5 separate regions of the Homo sapiens genome follow, and all the other regions are linked to region 2. Evidence: promoter capture Hi-C in 16 types of primary human blood cells and fetal thymus (Javierre and others, 2016). All regions are on one chromosome and are shown on one strand. Each heading gives the region's core, a stretch centred on a gene start or on the middle of the fragment in contact. The rest is flanking DNA. Distances are from core to core; before and after follow the strand shown. Region 1 holds the start of LYPLAL1 (lysophospholipase like 1). Region 2 holds the start of CENPF (centromere protein F). Region 3 holds the start of GPATCH2 (G-patch domain containing 2). Region 4 has its middle 6.4 kb from the start of RCOR3. Region 5 holds the start of RRP15 (ribosomal RNA processing 15 homolog).

Evidence for each region. The method cuts DNA at HindIII sites, captures the fragments that hold promoters and counts their contacts. A CHiCAGO score of 5 or more calls a contact.
Region 1: the fragment with the promoter of LYPLAL1 here is called in contact with the fragment with the promoter of CENPF in region 2 in 6 of 17 cell types (total CD8 T cells, non-activated CD4 T cells, fetal thymus and 3 more); the score reaches 18.1 in total CD8 T cells.
Region 3: the fragment with the promoter of GPATCH2 here is called in contact with the fragment with the promoter of CENPF in region 2 in 10 of 17 cell types (naive CD8 T cells, total CD8 T cells, total CD4 T cells and 7 more); the score reaches 16.3 in naive CD8 T cells.
Region 4: a fragment that was not itself captured here is called in contact with the fragment with the promoter of CENPF in region 2 in 1 of 17 cell types (monocytes); the score reaches 6.7 in monocytes.
Region 5: the fragment with the promoter of RRP15 here is called in contact with the fragment with the promoter of CENPF in region 2 in 2 of 17 cell types (total CD8 T cells and total CD4 T cells); the score reaches 7.0 in total CD8 T cells.

What each region holds. Positions count from the first base shown.
Region 1 is chr1:219,172,516-219,175,215 of GRCh38, reverse strand. LYPLAL1 (lysophospholipase like 1) reads right to left here and starts at 1,338. Exons shown (of 5, transcript NM_138794.5): 1 at 1,235-1,338. The coding sequence starts at 1,325. LYPLAL1-DT (LYPLAL1 divergent transcript) reads left to right here and starts at 1,428. Exons shown (of 5, transcript NR_038845.1): 1 at 1,428-1,746. RefSeq lists enhancers at 1,048-1,377, 1,458-1,507. The HindIII fragment of the contact is 2,433 bases long and covers 241-2,673 here.
Region 2 is chr1:214,601,790-214,604,493 of GRCh38, reverse strand. CENPF (centromere protein F) reads right to left here and starts at 1,299. Exons shown (of 20, transcript NM_016343.4): 1 at 1,173-1,299. RefSeq lists a silencer at 1,196-1,405. The HindIII fragment of the contact is 1,274 bases long and covers 763-2,036 here.
Region 3 is chr1:217,629,596-217,632,391 of GRCh38, reverse strand. It overlaps GPATCH2 (G-patch domain containing 2), which reads left to right and starts at 1,302. Exons shown (of 10, transcript NM_018040.5): 1 at 1,302-1,476. The coding sequence starts at 1,421. It overlaps SPATA17 (spermatogenesis associated 17), which reads right to left and starts at 1,048. Exons shown (of 11, transcript NM_138796.4): 1 at 946-1,048. The coding sequence starts at 1,013. RefSeq lists enhancers at 1,024-1,263, 1,294-1,363. The HindIII fragment of the contact is 9,292 bases long and covers 1-1,725 here.
Region 4 is chr1:211,251,573-211,254,298 of GRCh38, reverse strand. No RefSeq gene overlaps it. Among named protein-coding and RNA genes, the nearest start is that of RCOR3, 6.4 kb to the left of the region's middle. The HindIII fragment of the contact is 9,951 bases long and covers 1-2,726 here.
Region 5 is chr1:218,283,869-218,286,653 of GRCh38, reverse strand. It overlaps RRP15 (ribosomal RNA processing 15 homolog), which reads right to left and starts at 1,361. Exons shown (of 5, transcript NM_016052.4): 1 at 1,199-1,361. The coding sequence starts at 1,337. RefSeq lists enhancers at 1,104-1,383, 1,914-1,983. The HindIII fragment of the contact is 12,027 bases long and covers 1-2,785 here.

The DNA of each region.
Region 1 (2,700 bases), core at 89-2,588, 4.6 Mb before region 2:
AGGTCGGAGAGCTTTGGGTTCTAATCCCAAATCCGCCACTACTCACAGTAACAGCTAAGAGACCTTGGCCAAGCTGCTGAACCTGTCTGGCCTCATTTTCAAAATAAAGAGAATACCTCCCACAATTGCCCTTTTCCAGGTCTCTGCCCAGTACCTTTCCAATTCCCTTCCAATCACCGTCCCATTTAAGCCTACCCGTCTCGGCTCAAAGACCACTTTCTTCGAAAAGTCTGACAAGCTTTTCATCTTCCAAATGCCTTAATAATGCCTAACCACATTTTTTTCTCTTACAATTCACTTGGCAGGAAACCATGCACCGTCTTGTGATCTTCCATGCACTGCTGACTCAAACTAATTGGATTGTTTTTGTTTTTAACTTTAGGTAGGCCCCCTGAGGACACCGGCTGCATCTCATTTCTTTAAAAAACATTTCCTGAGAGCTTACCCTGGGCCAAGCACTGGGGGTGCAAAGGTTGACACAAGGGCCCTTACTCTCATAATCCAGTGGGAAGTTCACAATCCAGTGGGGAAGACAGACAAAAGTGATTACAGATGAGTGTTAAGTAACGATACAGCATTAAGCACACGTTACTAAGGGCAGGTAGTGGAAGATGCCTGTCCCTGGGGGTCCTGCCCCTGTAGTCTATCTTGGAAGTTTAATGACACAGGCGGGAAAGGGAAAGGAAGGAAAGAGAAGCAGCAAAAAGGAAAGTGAGAGAAAGCACTCCAGCCATGGCACAGTGGCTTACAGAAAAGAGATAATCTGTAAACAGTATCTAAGTTAACTGTGAATCTCAATTGTCTACATTAGTATGGGAGCCTGGAAAAAGCAATGGGCAATTACGACTGAAAAATCACTAGTAGCTGATAATGAAAAACACTAAATAATTTCCCTCTAGCAGAAGACTTACCTTACTAACTTGCTCTGTTTAAACTTGGGGCGAGGAATGGGGAGGTGTGTTGTGGGGATGGAGGGCTGGCTGAGCGGCGGGACACAAGGCCCCAAAGCGAGGGTGGTGGACCAGTGACCGCCCGATAGAAAGAGGAAGACTAACGGGGGAGGCTGGGGGCAGGTGGCGCTGCCCGTGCATCTACAGCCGGGGCTGGCGACGGGGGAGCCACCCACTGGGCCCTATTTGGGCCCGGCGACACCTCCACTTGGGCAATACTGGGGTAACCGAGGGGAGGATGTTTCCCGAGCTGTAGAAAACCAGGACGTAAAATTGAAATCCACCTGAGCCATGCAGGAAGATCAGAGAGGCGCTATGCCTCCCTGCCGGCGACACGATACAGCGCTGCAGAACCGACCCCGACGCAGCCGCCATCGCTGATGCCACTGCCAGTCATGCGGTTCCGCCCCTGCGTTGCCGCGCGGGGCCGCGCACGCAAATACGCAGGCACGCGCGGGAGCACGCCCGGGAGCGCGCATGCGCAGCGCTGCTGGCCCGCTCTCTGAGGAGCTTTCAATACTTTGGGGTCAAGTTTGAGGCAGTTGTAACTGTACTGAGTTTAGTTTTGCTAATAATGGTATTCTACGTGTGTCAGCCTCGTGTGGACTTCTGTAATGACTAATGGATATGTTTATATCCTGAGCATTTGCTGTAGGAATTTTAAATGCAATCCCAAAACTCAAGATTACCTTATTTGGAGAAATATTCGTGTTACTATGTTTAAAATTTAATAGAACCATATTTTACCTTTCACTTTGGGACTCGCACAGGATGTTTGCAGCTCTTGATATACAGGGTAAGCGAAGCATATAATAATAAGTTCTCTTCGTGTCTCTTATTTTTAATAAATAGTTTACAAAGCAAATCTAATTTAATGAGATTCTGCTTTATATACCCATTAGAATGGCTCTTATCAAAAAAACAGAAAATAAGTATTAGTAAAGATGTGTAGAAATTAGAAACCTTGTGCATAGCTGATCAGAATGTAAAATGATGTTGCGGCAATAGAAATAATTTGGTGGCTCCTCAACAAGTTAAACATTGACTTAGCATAGGTACTAGCAGTTCCACTTCTAGGTATATACCCAAAAGAGATGAAAGCAGGGACTCAAACAAATACTTGTACTTCAGTGTTCTGTAGCAGCATTATTCACAAGTACCAAAAAGTGGAAACAACTCAAATGTTCATCTACAGATGGAGAGATAAACCAAATGTGCTATGTACATATTGGAATGGAATATTATTCAGCCTGTAAAAAGAATGTGATTCGGATACATGCTACAACATGGATGAACCTTGAAAACATTATGCCGAGTGAAGCCAGACACAAAAGGACAAATAATTGTATGATTCCACTTACATGAGATATCTAGAATTGGCAAATGCATAGGGACAGAAAGTGAAATTAGAGGTTACCAGGGACTAAGGGAAGAGGGAGTTGGGAGGTTGTTGTTTAATGAGTACAAGAGTTTCTGCTTAGATAGTGAAACATTTTTAAAAATGGACAGTGATGATGGTTGTACAACAGTGTTAATAACTGCCAGTGAACTATACACCTAGTAAATTTTATGTGTATTTTACCATAATTTTAAAAATACTAAGAAATGGAATTATTTCCTGTATAAAGTCCAAAACATAGGTATCTTTTAATACTGAAGGCAGTGGCCCCAGCAGGTTGCTCTTGCCTCATGTAAAATTCAACAAAATAACCCAGTAAAAGCTTAAGTACCATTAAACACTGGCCTTCCA
Region 2 (2,704 bases), core at 50-2,549:
GATGTAGACCAAGCTAACTGTGATTAGAGCAGATTTTGGCCCATTAAGGGATCAGCTATCAGCCACCTGTATTGGGCCATTGGGGCAAAAGAACAAAAAAATAAACCCAGAAGTTTACTTTTGAGGAACAGGGAATCGAGGTGGGGAGTGAAGAAAAGCCCTGGATGAAGGTTCCTGCATGGAGGACTTGCAGGACTATTGTCCTTTCCAGAAAATGCTGTATCTTTATCTCTTAAATACGTGGAGGGCACTCTTCATGCCCGAACTACCCAGTCCCTTAGTCCCCAAGGAAGCTCTTGTGTGACCTCCTCCTGCCCCACCTCCACCACTGCTTTCCCGTTGTCAGAATTCCCCACCTCCTCCAAAAAGCCAGAGTCCCCGTGCACTGTACCAAGGCTGGGTCTGAGAATGATAACCCTGCCTTCTCCTCTAGGTCAGGCTCAAGGACACGACCCATGCCTTTTATTTCTGGGTCCTCATTACACAGCCGAGCCGGGCACACAGGCGCGTTCAAATAAATGTGGAAGGGAGGACCGGGCGTAGTGGCTCATGCTTGTAATCCTGGCACTTACAGAGGCCAAGGCGGGAGGATCCCTTGAGCCCAGGGGTTCCAGACCAGCCTAGGCAATATAGGGAGGCCTATCTCTATTTAAAAAAAGAAAAAAAAAAATGTGGACGGGAGGAAGAAGAGAGGGGAAAGAGAAATGCTCGCGTAACTAACCATAGGCACCCCACGTCGCCAACCAGATCAAAACTCAAGCTTACATCTACTCAATAAAACAAAGGACCAGGGCCTGAATTTCAATAAGGTTGGTTACGGGACTGGGAAGGCGGCTTGGAAATACCTAGTCATCTCCAATTCTTTTACGGAGGAAGAAAATGATCCCCTAAAGTGTGAGTCCGTGACCGAGTAGGGTCTGGGACACTAATCCGAGACCAGTTTGAACCCGAGCAGAAGGGCGCAGACACCCCTACGAACCACATCCCGGGGCGGATTCTCCAGTTCGGTCGGGTGGGAGGGGGCGGTCCCCGGCACCTACAGGGCCGGGAGAGTGATCCCAGAGGCCTCCCCGCCCAGTACCCGCCGGCAAAAAGCCAGCGGCACCCCCACGCCGCCCGCCGCCTACCGCCCGCCGCCAGGGCCAGGATCCGGACCCAGTCAGGACGCTCACCTTGCTCTCGGGGACGGGAAAACGACCTCTCGGAGAGTACAGTTCTGGCGCGGCTTCGGCGGGCTGGAGCCCAGAGTCTAATTCAAACTGCCCGCAGCCGCCACCGGTGCCCAATTCGCCCGCTTCTGGTCTCAACCAAACTTACCTCCACGCCTATTGGTCACTCTAAGTAGCTGCGGACCAATCCGCGCCTGCGCACTCAGACTGCCGCGTCTGATTGGCCCTTTCGGATGGATTTTAAAAACAAGCCCTCTACTGGAGGTGCCTGCGCCGGAGTTTACTGTTCTTTTTTGTTGTTGCGGGGAGACGGAGACCACGTGCTTTTGCTAATGCTAGACGCGGTTTTGGACCGCTATTTCCGCAAAAGTCAGGGAATGCGCCCGCTGATTAGGAAGGCGTGGTCTATCGCCTACAGCCAGGGGAACTGTGCTGCCTGGTGAAACCTCTTTTAAACTGCACGTACCAATCTACTTAATTAAACGTAAATTTAGGACATAGATACTAGGTGCTGTGTTTGTCATGCATTCTTTATCCGGTGTCGTTCTTAACAATTCTTTGAGGAAAGTATTATCCTCATTTTATTAAAAAGTTAACAGGCTCATAGAAGCTAAGTACAGTAATTTGAAATTGAATCTACGCAATGCAGGATGTCGCTCTTAAATGCTGTCCTTTATGGTTCATATTTCTAAGACGTGATTCTGAACACTTATTTTCCGGGATTAAGGCGTGGGGGGAGGACACTGCATCAGAATTTAAAATTCAGAAGAATCCTCAAAACGGGGTGTAATGCTTTTCGTGAAGCCCACTAGTTTTCTATGTATGTTATATACTCGTTTTATTTCCCTATTAAACTATAAATAAGCTTCTAAAGGCAGAAGCAAAACAATTAATTGTTAAAGTAATAGATCTCTAATGCTGTTGTCTGCCTCAATAGGTACCAAACTTTCCAGCCCCCTGACTTTACCTTTCATTAGACTGTTCCTGCAGTACCCAATTCAAGTGTCACTTTTTTTATAAAACCTCCCTAATCCCACCCACTCCTTAGAGATAATTATTTCCTAGACCTTTCCTGGAACTTGCAAACTTCATGTTTAGGATTTTCGCCGTGTCTTGTCTTGTATTTATGTCTACGTCTGACTCCCCCATCAGACTCAAAAATTCCTTTACAGTAAAATCTGTTTTAATTCATTTTTGCATCCCTAGTAACTTTGCACATAGTAATTTAAAATCCAGATCATCTTGGGAGATAAAACTGCTATTTGGGGAAAGGCCTTGTTCTTACTATCTTCTACCTTCGAATCCCCAAAGGGAGGGGAGAGAGCAGGTAGGGGAGGAAAACTTTTGTCAGACATTGCCATGATCAGTCTAGTGTCTGGTAGTTTTAGAATTTGAACCAAATTGTGTCTGGCTTCAACACAAATTACAATTCCATTGCTTCCCAGAGTAATTATTCAACTATGTATAGGCTGTTTAAGGAAAAATAAACAGCTAGAAAGACAGATAATAGAGGATATTTTTAAGGTTTGAATAAG
Region 3 (2,796 bases), core at 53-2,552, 3.0 Mb before region 2:
TTTAAGTTACAAAAACTCCTGGGGCAATGCTTCTTTAAAATGAAACTCTTCCTGGGCAAGAAGTTTGGCTGTAGGGAGATGAAGAAGACTGCTAGTGGTTTTCTTACCCGTTATCTATTAATTAATATATTGGTACTAGTTACCGTGTCAGAATGGTTTAGACACTTTCATTTTATTTTATTTTATTTATATTTATTTATTTATTTATTGAGACAGGGTCTTAATTTGTCACCCAGGCTGGAGTGCAGTGGTACAATGTCGGGTCACTGCAACCTCTGCCTCCCAGGTTCAAGCGATTCTCCTGCCTCAGCCTCCGGACTAGCTGGGATGACAGGCATGTGCCACCATGCCCGGCTAGTTTTTGTATTTTTAATAGAGACGGGGTTTCACCATGTTGTCCTGGTTGGTCTAGAACTCCTGGCCTCAGGTGATTCGCCCCCCTCGGCCTCCCAAAGTGCTGGGATTACAGGCGTGAGCCACCACACCCGGCAGATACGTTCATTTTAAAAAGGCGAATGAGTCATAGAACAATTGAGTTTAGTGATGTTTGTAAAATAACGGAGGCTCAAATCCCTAGGTAGATGGGACACAATCTGAGTTCATTGGGCTAGTGAGTCAGGGTGACCCCCAGTCAGGGTATTGAACATAGGTTTCATCAAATTGCAGAGTGGTGATGTCGAAGAAAAAAAGCACTTTACAATTTTATCTATGCTGGGAGTTTCCTTAAATCATCTCACACTGAATATCTACGGCCCCTCTCTATTTAGAATTTCGTTGTATGGTAACAGAAACTCCCAATTATGTTTGCAGCCCATTAAGGGAAGAATTGGGTACTACTTAATGAATTAGGGTAATCGTTAAATCGTTAATTGGAAACTCCCGCTGAGGAACAACTGGTATAAAGTCACGCCCGCCCTTTACGCGATCCTTCTCTTCCTGACTTACCTGTTCCTAAAGTAGTACTGATTTCCTACAGTCGACGACCTAGCTTGCAGCCGGGCTAACGTGGCCATGGTCTCTTGGCCTTGGGTTTACAACTGGTGTTACTACCGGTCTCCATGGTAACTGGGCTAAACCATAGCTCACTCCCGGGGTTCGACTTTTTGTTCACTCCTCTTTTCTCTCATGCTGCTTTGACTTTAAGAGCACTAAAAAGAGAATTAAGAAATTTCTGTGTAGCACAAAAGTTTAATTTATTTGTCTCTGTCTCTACTGCGAGTAGGAAGAGGGGATTATAGGAAGGGGAAAGCAGTAAACGCGGAGAACTAATGGTTGCTCCGGGCATCCGGTTTCCGCCGCCTGTCGGCTTCCGGAAGCTCATCTCAAAATGCTGAACTGCTCTTTGGAAGTCGCCGGTGCTGTTGTAGTTGGAGTCTGTTCACGGGCCTGAGCTTCGAGGCCAGGCTCCCGGGTGTCGTTAATGTTCGGGGCCGCCGGGCGCCAACCGATCGGAGCTCCAGCAGCCGGGAACAGCTGGTGAGGCTGGCGGCCCTGGGGAGGGGGAGGTCAGGGAAGGGTGTGATTGCCCGAGGCCGCTCCGCTGGACCTGGAATGGAGGCGGGAGGGAGCTGTGATGGATGATCTGAAGACATCTAGGCCTTGCTCTCACTCATTCCTGGGATGCACGCAGTTTGAGGGAGCTCTTGGGTGTGTGCCAAAGATTTGTGAAAGAATACAGTAAATGTTTTCTGATTGCTTGTTTAACAATATTTTAGAAGTCAAGCTTCCTGTACTCCAGGAGCAATTCATCTCCTCATTGATTGTTGACAACACTAGGGACAGGAAGAATTTATCTTAATCCGGGCCTTATTCCCCACTCCTCTTTCAATATTTACCAGATTATACCAAGTCTTTTGGAAGATAAATTCCAGAAATCTAGAGTTCTGGAAGTTCAATCGTGGAAAACACATCACCCTCTCACCCCCTTTTTTAAAGAGAGAGGGTAACCTACCTGTTTCCACCCTCTTGAACATTCTATTCAAGTTAAAGTGAGATATGTATGGGGGCTTTCCAAGAACCTATAACTGTCAGGATTAAGTTTGGGGCTTGACTATGTCTATGGTATCATGTTAGAATAATATATTGCTTTGACTTTTCAAAGTATTTCCACAAATTAATACACTTTATCCTATGACAGCCTTGTGATAGCAGAATATCACAAGCACAGAAAATTCAAGTACCGTGTCCAAAGTTGCCCTGTACATTTTAATCCTAGAGCTAGAATCCTGATTTGGGGATTTCTAGTTGAACACTCTGTATTATCTGTCCTGTTTTTCTCCCAAGCCCTTTTCCTCCAAACATAACATAAGACAACCAGTGACACAAACAAGCAATTTCCCATTGAAAATCCTCAAACATAAAGTTCTGACCAACAGGTGAAAGAAATGTGGCTAAATGGTGCGTGTTCATTCCTAGATTCTGCAAAAATTAGAACATGAGGAATTCTAGTAGTCTGTGATCTCAGATAATTGCTTTTCCATCACCTATCACTGAAAAGTTAAAAGAATACCTTATCCAAAATATTTCTAGTTGGACCTGATCATCCTGTAGTTAATTTTATAGTGAATATAGATTTGATTATACTATTTGTAAATTATTACATTTTCCAGTGAGAAAAGTAGGGAGCATTTTTTAAATGAACCAGTTTTTAATGGTATAACTAGCATAGAATGAAATGCACAATTTTTACAGGCTTAATTTTATTAGTTTTGGCAATTGCATATACTTATGTAAACACCACACAAAACAAGATAATGGATTTGTCCATCACCCCACAGTTCCCTCTCAAGGATACCT
Region 4 (2,726 bases), core at 128-2,627, 3.4 Mb after region 2:
TGTGTGTGTGTGTGTGTATTAAATTGCAAGCTGATTCCAAAATTTATATGGAAATTGGGAAGGTCAAGAACAACCAAGACAATCTAGAAAAAGAACAAAGTTGGAGGATTTATACCCCCAGATATTACTGCTAAAGCATCTATAAAAATTATTGTGGTACTGGCGTAAGGATAGAAAATAGAAAAATGGATCGAATAGAGTTCCCAAACAGATGCTTATGTGAACATTTTATTTATGTAAAGGTGACACTGTAGTAATGTGGAGAAAACTTGACATGTCAATAAGTAATGCTGGGGCAATGCATATCATGTGGAAAGAAAGTAACCTTGATGCCTACTCATACTGAAAAAAAAAATCAAAATACGTTGTGGACCTCAATGTAAAAGGTAAAACAATAACACTTTTATAATTTCAGGTAGTCAAACATTTCTTAAACAGGATAGAGAAAGCACTGTTTATGCCGGTCGTGGTTGCTCACACCAGTAATCCCAGCACTTTGGGAGGCCGAGGCGGGCGGGATCACGAGGTCAGGAGATTCAGACCATCCTGGCCAACATGGTGAAACCCTGTCTTTACTAAAAATACAAAAATTAGCTGGGTATGGTGGCACGCACCTGTAGTCCCAGCTCCTCAGGAGGCTGAGGCAGGAGAATCACTTAAACCCAGGAGGTGGAGGTTGCAGTGAGCTGAGACCATGCCACTGCACTCCAGCCTGGGTGACAGAGCAAGACTCCATCTCAAAAAAAAAGCACTATTTATAAAGGAAAATATGAGCATTCCAGATACAGAAAATAGTATGGGAAAGGCAAAGAATATTGAATTAAGATGTTATGTCAGACAACTAAAAACGGTTTTGTATTCCTAGAATATGAAGTGAACTCAGAGTTAGGCAAGTTCTGAATCACATTAAGTCTTTTATAGCATTCGAAAGGGTTAGGCAATTTACAGATAATGAAACAGGATCAGAGAGATCTAAGCAGGAGATTGGGTCCAATTGGTATTTTAGATGGAATAGAATTTGTACCCCCACCCTCAAAAAAAAGGACACTATTGAAGTAATCAAGAAATGATGAGGCTTAAATTACAGCAGTGGTAGCAAGGCTAGAGGCAGGGACAGATAAAAATATTTAGTAGCTAAAATTAGCAAAATCTGGGGACGAACTGAATATAGAAAGACAAAAGGAAGGGATGAATTTAATCTGATACAAGGATTTTGGCTTGGGTGTCTGGATAGATGATTGTGTCAACAACTGAGATGATGAATACTGAAGACTTGCCATTTTATGGGACAAGAAGGATGAGTCGCCGGGTGCAGTGGCTCACGCCTGTAATCCCAGCACTTTGGGAGGCCAAGGCAGACAGATCACCTGAGGTTGGGAGTTCGAGACCAGCCTGACCAACATGGAGAAACCCCATCTCTACTAAACAAAATTAGCTGGGCATGGTGGTGCATGCCTGTAATGCCAGCTACTTGGGATGCTGAGGCAGGAGAATCACTTGAACCCAGGAGGCAGAGGTTGCGGTGAGCCAAGATGGTGCCATTGCACTCTAGCCTGGGTAACAAGAGCTAAACTCTGTCTCAAAAAAAAAAAAAAAAAGAATGAATTTATTTCTGGATATATTGGGTACTCCATAGTGAGATATCCAATATGCAGTTGGATATAAAATTAATATCAGCACTGGAGAGAGAGGAGTTGCTAGTGATTGGTTGTAGCTAACCAAGGTTGTAAGACCTGTCTTAGTCCATTCAGGCTGCATAACAAAATACCTTAGACTGGGTCATTTACAAACAATAGAAACTTATTTCTCACAGTTCTGGAGGCTGGCAAGTCCAAGATCAGGGAATCAGCAGATTTGGTGTCTGGGGAGCATTCTCTGCTTCATAGATGTTGCCTTGTTGCTGTGTCCTCACAAGGCAGAAGAGGCAAGGCAGTTCCCTTCAACATCTTTTATAAGGGCACTAACCCCACTCATGCCTTAATAGTTTCCCAAAAGGCCCCACCTCTTAATACAATCACAGTGGGTACTAAGTTCCAACATATGAATTTTGGGGGAACACATACATTCAGACCATAGAAAGACCTAACTAAGTCACACAAGAAGAGCATACAAGATGAAAAGTATAATGAGCTGAGAATGAAAAGCAAGGGAACACCAATATTAAAGAGTGTAAAAGAAGAAAAAAAAAAATCCATGAAAGAGAGTGAAAAGGAATTGAGAAATAGGAAGAGAACTAGGAGACTGTGCTTTACTGAAACCAGGGGTATAGAGAGATGCAAAGAGAAACAGGGTCACCAGGCCAAGAGAGATAAGACTTAAATGCTTATGCAAGTAAGAGGTCATGAATGATTCTGGTAAAAGCAATTTTACTGGGATTAATGGGCTGAAAAGCCAAGCTGCAGTGGATTGAGAAGTGGAGGAAGGAAATAGGAACAAAAAATGTGAGCCTACTCCAGAAAAGTACTCATATGGATAAGGAAAGGAACACACACACACACACACACACACGCACGTGACAACACGTAGTGTCTTGAAGCAAAGTGACTATAGAGATACAGCCAACAAGATGTATATATCTAACATTTTATTTATTTATTTATTTATTTATTTATTTATTTATTGAGACGGAATCTTGCTCCGTTGCCCAGGCTGAGTGCAGTGGTTCGATCTTGGCTCACTGCAACCTCCACCTCCCAGGTTCAAGCAATTCTCCCATCTCAGCCTCC
Region 5 (2,785 bases), core at 112-2,611, 3.7 Mb before region 2:
ACAGTAGGCTCTATTTTTATGGAACTTATATTCCAATTGGGAAAGCAGCAAATACATACATCAAATGGTTTGGGCAGGGTTGAGAAAAAATAAAGCAGGGCAATAAGTCAAAAAGTGAAGAAAAGAAGGCAGGAAGAAGAGTAGTGGTGGTACGTTACATAGGGTAGTCAGGGACAAGTCTCTCTGGTAAGGCACTGGATCAGAGGCTGGTGAGGGAGAGACATGCCAAGCATTTGAAAACTATTCTAGGCAGCGGAGCCAACAAATGAAGAAACCATGGTGTGGGAGCATGTTTAAGGTGTTAAACACAAGCATACCGGTATGGCATGATTACAGTTAGTGGTTTGTGAGGGGCATATTGGCCTATGACAGACAACCTGGCCCAAATCATACAGCCTAAGGATTTTGGATATTATATACTGAGATGAGAAGCCACTGGATCATCTCAAACAGACAGCGGGCATAATTAGAAATACGTTATAAAAGAATAGCTCTGTCTGTTTTTTGGGTATCAGCTGGTACAAAGGAGCAATAACTGGGCAGTAGGAAGTCAGGGATTACCTGCAATTCCTTGTAACCTAATAAGCTGGTGCCAAGAATGATGGTAAAGAGGAGCAACAGACACAGCATGGTTGAAAGCCTCAAAAACACATCCTTCCTTCCTTTTATTATCAAGCGTCTCTGAGAGACATAGTTATCAAACACTACCAGTTTTTAATCGACCTTAACCACCAAACTCTTCTTTCATTCACTATTATTTAGTCTCTAAAACACGCACACATCTACCGCACAAAAAGTCAAGTACACCCCCTTCTTCCTCTTACCTCTTTTAACCTTTTGCTTCTTACACCCTATGAGACCCATTCTTCTCCTGTTTTCAAGTACCCTCTTCCTTTCACCCTTTGCTACTGTAAGTTTCTCGGTAGCTGCAGGTGTTTCACCCATTTTATTATAATTAATAATGGTGACCCTGAAAATACCTAGTAAAAGAATGTGGAAACTCAAAATTACAGTTGACAGCGTTACTTCTCTGAACACGACTTCCCCAAGCCTCCTCACTAAGCCAAAGTCGCCCCTCTGAAGTGGTGCCAAGATAAAACCCAGGTGGCTAGCAGCAAATGAAGTCGCAAGCGCTGCTTGACACGAACTCAGCCCCGCCTTTCCTCCCAGACACCAAAGCTCAGCCCTACCACATTACCTTCACTATCAGAAGTGTCTGTGGCCTCGTCTTCCAGCACCGACGCTACGGCTCCAGTTACCATTTTCATCTTCTTCTTTGGGGTCTTTTTCAGGTTTTCTTCCTCACTCACACGTGAGTCCGGAGCGGCGGCTGCCATTTTTCTGCGCCGGAAGCGTCACCTGACAGTTGCGTCCGGTGGCAACCAGAGGAACTTCTGCATTTAGTGCCGGTAACACAAGGTTCCGGGGCGGGGTCGTCTAGCCCAGAGTTCCGGGGCCGGAGCCTCAGAATGTGACTTGGAGAGAGCTCTGAATGGCTCGGTGTGTTTACGCGAAGTCCGTTCCAGGACGAAAATCAGCGGCTGAATGGCCTCAGCCGACTCCTCCGCTAGCTCGCCTGTGCCCTGGTCCTCCGCCCCAGTGCGTCCCCAGCCCGTCCCCAGCCCAGCGCGGTCCACTTTGATTTCCTAGCCTCGGCGGCTTCCCTTGTCTGCTGCCTTAATGTTGGTTTAGTGTCCTCCTCAGGTGTCTCTTACGTGCCCACTGAACGCCGCAGCAGCTAGGACGCGGGACAGATCCACTGGGGGCCGATAATTAGAATACGATCGTATCATCCCCCCGCCCAAGATAACACGCGAGACCTTTCTTGCAAACCGAATAGACTCACCTTCTTTCCCTGGGGCGGGTGTTGAATCCAACCGCACCCTTCTCCCTCGGACCCGGCTGGGGCCTGGAGGGTTTCTGGCGCCCGACTGCGCAGTGCAGACCGAGGGTGCGAATACCTTGCTATCCGCGCGAGGATCCTGCCTCCCACCCGGGGCTAGCTTTTCTCTGAAGTTAGCCTCTGTCACCAGCTCCTAGTTCCATCGAAGCACCTACCACAGTCGGCCTTCATTTTCCCCCCTAAAATGTTGGCTTCTCGCAGGAGGGGAACGTATTTCATTTACCATGTCCCCTCAAGGTTAGCAACAGAAGTTGGCCTGAAGTGAATTTTCCAAAAATATTTTTGGAAGGGATGAATGAATCAATGAATGAGTGACAGAATATAACTATTGACAAAGTTAATGACTCAGATGGATAATGCAGCAAACCTTTACTGGCTAGACTTGTTCTAAAGGCTTTCCCCAAACTTAGCGTTTTCCCTTTCCCCTCTTAAGGAGGTTCATAGATTGTGATACCCATAAGTCAAAAACAAAAACAAGAATCCTCATTTTGACATATTCCAGTAGATGTTTATGTAGGAAATAAATATATATTCACATCCTAAAAACTCAATACAACATTTTTAAACTTGGTTTTTAATTTTTTTGTCTTTTAAGAGAGAGAGGGTCTAGCCGGGTGCGGTGGCTCACACCTGTAATCCCAGCACTTTGGGAGGCTGAGATAAGTGGATCGCTTGAGTCCAGGAGTTTGAGAACAGCCTGGCCAACATGGTGAAACCCCATCTCTACTAAAAATACACAAATTAGCCAAACGCAGTGACGAGTGCCTGTAGTCCCAGTTACTCGGGAGGCTGAAGCAGGAGAATCGCTTGAACCTTGGAGGCGGAGGTTGCAGTGAGCGGAGATCGCGACTCTGCACTCCAGCCTCGGCGACAGAGCGAGAC